Linked DNA regions of Homo sapiens: region 2 is linked to region 1. Evidence: promoter capture Hi-C in 16 types of primary human blood cells and fetal thymus (Javierre and others, 2016). All regions are on one chromosome and are shown on one strand. Each heading gives the region's core, a stretch centred on a gene start or on the middle of the fragment in contact. The rest is flanking DNA. Distances are from core to core; before and after follow the strand shown. Region 1 holds the start of MECOM (MDS1 and EVI1 complex locus). Region 2 overlaps MECOM (MDS1 and EVI1 complex locus).

Region 1 (2,938 bases), core at 271-2,770:
GAGCCTTCTCTTTTGGAAGTTGTTTTACTCCTGTTGTGAGTAATTCCCTCCTTTACCTTCCTACTTCCCTTCCTCACATTTCAACCTTATACATCTGTCTCCCTTGAGACCTGTAGCTTGGTTCTCCAGGGACCTCTATCTTACAGCCAAATGCCCCCAGAATTACACAGCTCTGGATAAAGGAAAATGGTAGGCATCCTTAACAAGGACAAATTCTTTGAACTTTGATTCTCTTGAATAAAGAGATTTGCAGGCCATTGATACCCTTTGGGGTTGAACCTTGTTATTTGCTCTCTCATGTCTGCAGTCCTAGATTTGATAATAAATACCAACAGGTACGACTGGGCATTCTCAATGATTCCCCTTTCCCTCCACAGCCTTTGCCAAACTCATGCCCAGGACCTGCTTTTCTTTTCCTTTAACTTGAACATCAAGGATGTATTGTTGCAGCACGGAGACTGAAAAGATTGTAATTTTCTTTTATGGTGTCTGGCAGGATTTGCAACAGATATTAATGGGGACATAAATAGCACATGGAAGGTATTGAACAAAACTGTTTAATGCAAGAAGGTTGTACCAAAAGAAAATCTATACCTAGTTGGGATTGATTCATACCTTGTACACAGCTAGCCCCTTTAGGAATTCCCATTTCTGAGTGGCACTTCATTGGTAAATCCTGTAATTAAAGGAAATTTCAACAATGTATTTTTTTAAGAGTGTGTGATTTTCCTCCCTACTCCTCTTTCTTTTGACCCCGAGGTTGTAGGTTTAAGCGAGTGAGTGAAAATGGCAGGCAAGCAGAGCTGCATCGGGAGGCGACCGGGGCAGCAGTGGGGGAGGCCGGAAGGTGACAGCCGACCTCTGAGAAAGCAGGAGGTCTTTGGATGTCAAATGCCAGCGCCGGCCCGGACCCGGGAATCAAGGGTGATCATTACTACTTGGTAGGGAAAGAATACTGAAATGTCCCAAGGATGGCAGCAAGCATTGGTATTACAGCTAAAATCGAGGAAAAAACCAGTTATTTATTCTGCTTACAACCCTGAAAGCGGAAGCTGCAATAGCTTCAGTAGCAGTAGCAGCGGCAGCAGTAGATTTCTCAAGTTCAGGATGATTCTCACTTTCTCCTGGATTATTAGCCGAGGGTCCAGCCCTTCTAGTTCTTTAACAGGAGAAGGGTTTTTAAAAAATGTTTTTAAAGTTTTTTTCCCCCCTGGCTTCTTGCTTCCCTCGTAGATGGTATAGAAAAATGTCTGCAATTTATGGTGGGAAAAACAATAACAATAATCATGATACAAGCTTGTTGGCGATTCTAACATGGAATCAATCCTCTGCCCAAGCCTTTTCAATTCCCCCCTCCCCTTTTTTTGGGCGAGGTGTCTGCTCCCCTCTGGCTCCCTGCGTTCGCTCCCCGCCCCCCGCCGCCCTCCCCGCGGCTCCCTTTCTCCGCCTCCTCGGCGATTGCCATCTGACAAGATCTCCAAATCAAAGTGATAAATCGCTCCAAACTTTTTTTGGCGGCGCTGAGATGTTGGAGGGGCGTCTAGCGCGCATGTGCGAAGGTGTCCAAACTGACAATGCTGGAGAGATAGCGAGTGTGGATTGAGAGAAAGGGAGAGAGGGAGGGAGAGAGAGTGAAAGAAGAAAATACAGAGAGTGAGTGTGTGGAAGAGAGAGAGAAACAGGAGAGAAACAGGAGGGAGGGAGAGAGAGAGAGAGAGAGAGAGAGAGAGAGAGAGAGAGAGAGAGAGAGAGAGAGACAGGAGAGAGAGGGAGGGAGCGAGAGGGAGAGCAAAAGAAGGAAAGGATCCAAGAAAAAAAAGCCCCAACCACACACCAGCGGCTGCAGGACTGGGCACAGCATGAGATCCAAAGGCAGGGCAAGGAAACTGGCCACAAGTAGGTGCAATATCCCTTTTCTATTGGCTTTTCCCCCTCCTCTGCCATCTTGCATATCTGTCTCTAGCGCTCCGGGAGGGAGCGCGGGCTGCCTCTTGCGCCGGGGCCCCGGGTGGAGGGCAGGCGGAGCGCAGCCCCAGCAACCTGCCGGTTCCAGTCTCTGCTCCCGGTCGCCCGCGCTCTCGCTCCCGGGTTGGGCGCCGGAGGAGCCTGGGCAGCCCTCAGTCCCGCGCACCGACCAGCTGTGGCAACCCCGGGGTGGGGGTGGGGGTGGGGGCAGCAAAGACTAGGGGTGGGAGGGAGGAGAGAGCGCGAGAGTGAGCGCGAAGGGGTGGGGTGGGGGGGAAGAGAAGAGGAGAAAGTCTCCCCCTCCCCTCCCCTTCCCCCCAGGCGGGGGAGAGTTGCCTCTGGCCAACCAGCTAGTCCCGGGTGTGGGAGGAGGGGGGCGCGGGGGATGGGGGGCCGGCAGGAGAAGGGAGCCTTTTCGAGCCTCGGTTTGTTTCTGGGGTTTGGGTAGGGTAGGCGGCTCAGAGGGAGCCACAGTGGCGGCGGCGGCGGGCGGCTGTGGTGGACTTGGGAAAAGTTGCGAGGCGGCCGCTGGAAGTTGCGCGGGCGGGCGGGTGGACTGCGCCGAGCCGCGGCTGCGGTAGTGGGCGCTGTGCGCTCGGCCATGCTCTCCGGCGCGGCGCTGCGCGGCGGGAGGACTGCGGCGGGGAGTAGGGGACACCAAGGTGGGGGCTGTGATCGCGGGGTGGGGGCGGGGGCACGGGCAGAGCAGAGCTACCGGCTCCGCACAGCCACGCGCAGGTGGGGAGGAAAGAGGCCCAGCGAGCGCTCGGACGTGGGGAGAGAAGAGGCCCAGCGAGCGCTCGGAGAGCCGGGAGTGGAGGGCACACAGCCAGCGGCGGCAGCCTAGGAGCAGGAGGCAGAGAGGGCGCGCTGCGACCCGCGCACCTCGGGCTTGCTGGGCGCCGAGCAAACCCCAGGGGGCGGGCTGCCAGAGCGTTGGGCCGCGGAGAGGGCGCAGCGCAGCCTCCGGCGC
Region 2 (2,938 bases), core at 247-2,746, 360 kb after region 1:
TGGTATTGGAAACAGGATTTGGCTTTTTGAGTATTTGAAAAAATAAAGGGTTAGACAAAATCAGGATTGGATACTCACAACTTTGGGGCTGCTTCTGGTTGATACAGTTTTCAGAAGAGAAAGAAATTGAGTTTGAATGCCTTAAGTGGACTGTGTGGTTTGTTTCACATGGATTTCACCACTCCCTGTTATCTTACACTTGAGTGTTCACATCTTTACACTACCGCTTAAGGTCCCAGATATTGCAACGTCTGTTATGAATGACTTCTAACATGTCTTCCACCTCCACTGTTTTATGAATCTTTAGGTCAGGCACAGAGTTGGCATTTAGTAAACATATATTGAATAAATGAATGAATAGTAGTGTGATATATATATATATATCTGTTTCAAGTTGGGTTAGCCATGAATTCCATGAGTGAAATTTTCTGAAAATGCCATCAATGTGTGTCATTACATGGAGAGGAAAGAATGGCAAGGAACTTTCTTGTTTTGTGGGAAGGGGGAAGTTAGACTTTTGATGATGTTACAGACAATTGGCTTGGAATTTGTAGAAAATATGTAAAATGGTTTCTTTTAGTGAAAATCCAAAGAATTCTCTTGATCGGTGACATAAATTTATTGGTGGTGTTTTTCATGTGACCTTTTTGGGTGATCATTGTCTTAGAAAGAAATAATGTAAGAGTAGTTGAGTATATGTCATCTCTCTTCAAATAAATATTAAAGATGTGAAAATAATCTGAAAGAGGACTCCTCAGTGTGTTTAGGTTTTGGCTCTGTTCAAATTTTTCTTTGTTGTTAATCTTTTATCTGGTTTAGTAAAATCTAGTTTGTTTCTAAAATGTTACGCTTTTTTTTTTTGAGACAGAGTCTCCCTCTATTGCCCAGGCTGGAGTGCAGTGGTACAATCTCGGCTCATTGCAATCTCTGTCTCCTGGGTTCAACTGATTCTCCTGCCTCAGCCTCCTGAGTAGCTGGGATTACAGGTGCCTGCCACCACACCCAGCTAATTTTTGTATTTTTAGTAGAGATGGGGTTTGCTCATGTTGGCCAGGCTGGTCTTGAACTCATGACCTCAGTGATCCACCGGCCTCGGCCTCCCAAAGTGCTGGGATTACAGGCATGATCCACCACACCTGGCAAATATTACACTTTTAAAATTTATATTTGTTCATAGTTTTTCCCTGGTTCAAAAAATATTCATTCTATTCATTCTTTCAATCAATATTAACCAGGCGATAATTATAATGTAATAATTGTTTGAATTCACCAGATTTCTTTTTATTTTAGAGAAAAACCAACAGCAACAACAAAACCCTGAGGCACACAGACTGGGCCATGGGAAACAAACTCTGCCATTTTCACAGCAGGAGGTGTTGTGCCACCCCACGGCATTCCTGGTCCCTCTGCCTGCCCTGGAGCATTGGCACTGTGTCCAAGCTCTACCTTGAATCACTGATTCTCTTCTATTGTCTAAGACTGTGCTACATTTCTAACAGGACTTGATACATGGACATGTGTCTTCCTTTTCTCTACTTGTCTTGAAGCCACAGATACAGATTGTATATATTCAAGTTCAGCTATTGCTGGAGTGTCTAGTCCTGTCGGGCCCCAATTGTGTTTAAAAAGGCAAGGTAGTGGAACTCTCTTCATATTTGATAACCTAGAGGGAACATTTTAAAGCAATCATTGACATTTAGGAGGCATATATTCACTAAAAACCCCTCTTTGACATCTCCTAGAATAAGTACAGTCTTCTAAACATCATCTGGGTATTTAAACAAGCTGCACTGATGTCAGTGCTAAGCCCCCCTCCTTTGTGTTGCCCCCATCATATTGATTTATACTTGAAGGAAATGGACATAAAAGGATCCTGTATTTGGGGTTTATAAATTTTACAGAATAGGCTATAAATGAAGGATTAGTTTGTAAGTTTCACCTTGGTATTATTCTCAGTAATATAAATCCTATAAATATACTTTACTTGATTAACATGACTGAAAACTGTCATCAAAATTAGCATATCTTTTACATATCAGAAGCATCTTACCTCTTGGTAATTACATTATTTGATTTTCCTAGAGTAATGGGGAAAATTTTAATTTAGTTTAAAATATGAATAATGTTCACACCTGCAAACCATTATTCTGCCTCCTTAAATTTCAGGGTCTCATTCACATCATCTTACATTTCATTGCTTTGTTTGGGGATGGTGTTGAAAAAGTAAAATCATAGGACATGCCACTATTGTTGATTCTAAGTGAAAAGCCATAGGCTATCAACACTGCTAGTGCTTATTTTCTGCATTATGATAGAAAAAATAAAAGACATATTTTCTCCCAACTTTCCCTAGAGTGGATTGGGTGGCATCTTGCTTCACATGATATGAATCATACATTTTCCTTCTATTCAGATCTCTGTATTTCTATAATCACTTTGTCAACTTTAAGAAGGAGAGGAAAATGTTTTGATTGGAGGAATAAAGTCTGTTCAGGTTAGACATAATCTAGTCAGACACTCACCTTGTGCAGCTGTTTCACTTTCAGAGAATAATCATAACATTGTGTAGAATGATGATGAGATATGTTATTATCTAACAGAATCGCGCCGATATTTAATTAATTCCACATTAGCCAACTAACATGTTAAAAGAGAGCTGTGGCTAAGGTTTAAATACTGAACCCACAATATAGAAACAGAGCTAAGAAAGATTGCTTCAAGTTAATTCAGTAACTAGTGACAGCACGAGAAACAGAACTAAAAGTTCATGTCTTAGTTTAGGGCCACTTATTGAGCGAAGCCTTGACAAATCATAATATAACCCAACAAGGTGTTGGAGTGGCTATAAAAGCTAATAGAACCCCAGGCTCCAGTATAGAAGTACAGTGACCTGATTTAATGGGGTAATGGTTAGCTCTGTTGTACTCTCCTCTGGTTG

The links. The method cuts DNA at HindIII sites, captures the fragments that hold promoters and counts their contacts. A CHiCAGO score of 5 or more calls a contact.
Region 2: a fragment that was not itself captured here is called in contact with the fragment with the promoter of MECOM in region 1 in 1 of 17 cell types (endothelial precursors); the score reaches 8.1 in endothelial precursors.

The regions. Positions count from the first base shown.
Region 1 is chr3:169,662,294-169,665,231 of GRCh38, reverse strand. MECOM (MDS1 and EVI1 complex locus) reads left to right here and starts at 1,520. Exons shown (of 17, transcript NM_004991.4): 1 at 1,520-1,896. The coding sequence starts at 1,860. RefSeq lists a silencer at 2,529-2,628. The HindIII fragment of the contact is 2,702 bases long and covers 1,299-2,938 here.
Region 2 is chr3:169,300,787-169,303,724 of GRCh38, reverse strand. All of the region lies in intron 2 of MECOM (MDS1 and EVI1 complex locus), which reads left to right. Among named protein-coding and RNA genes, the nearest start is that of MECOM-AS1, 150 kb to the left of the region's middle. The HindIII fragment of the contact is 3,028 bases long and covers 1-2,938 here.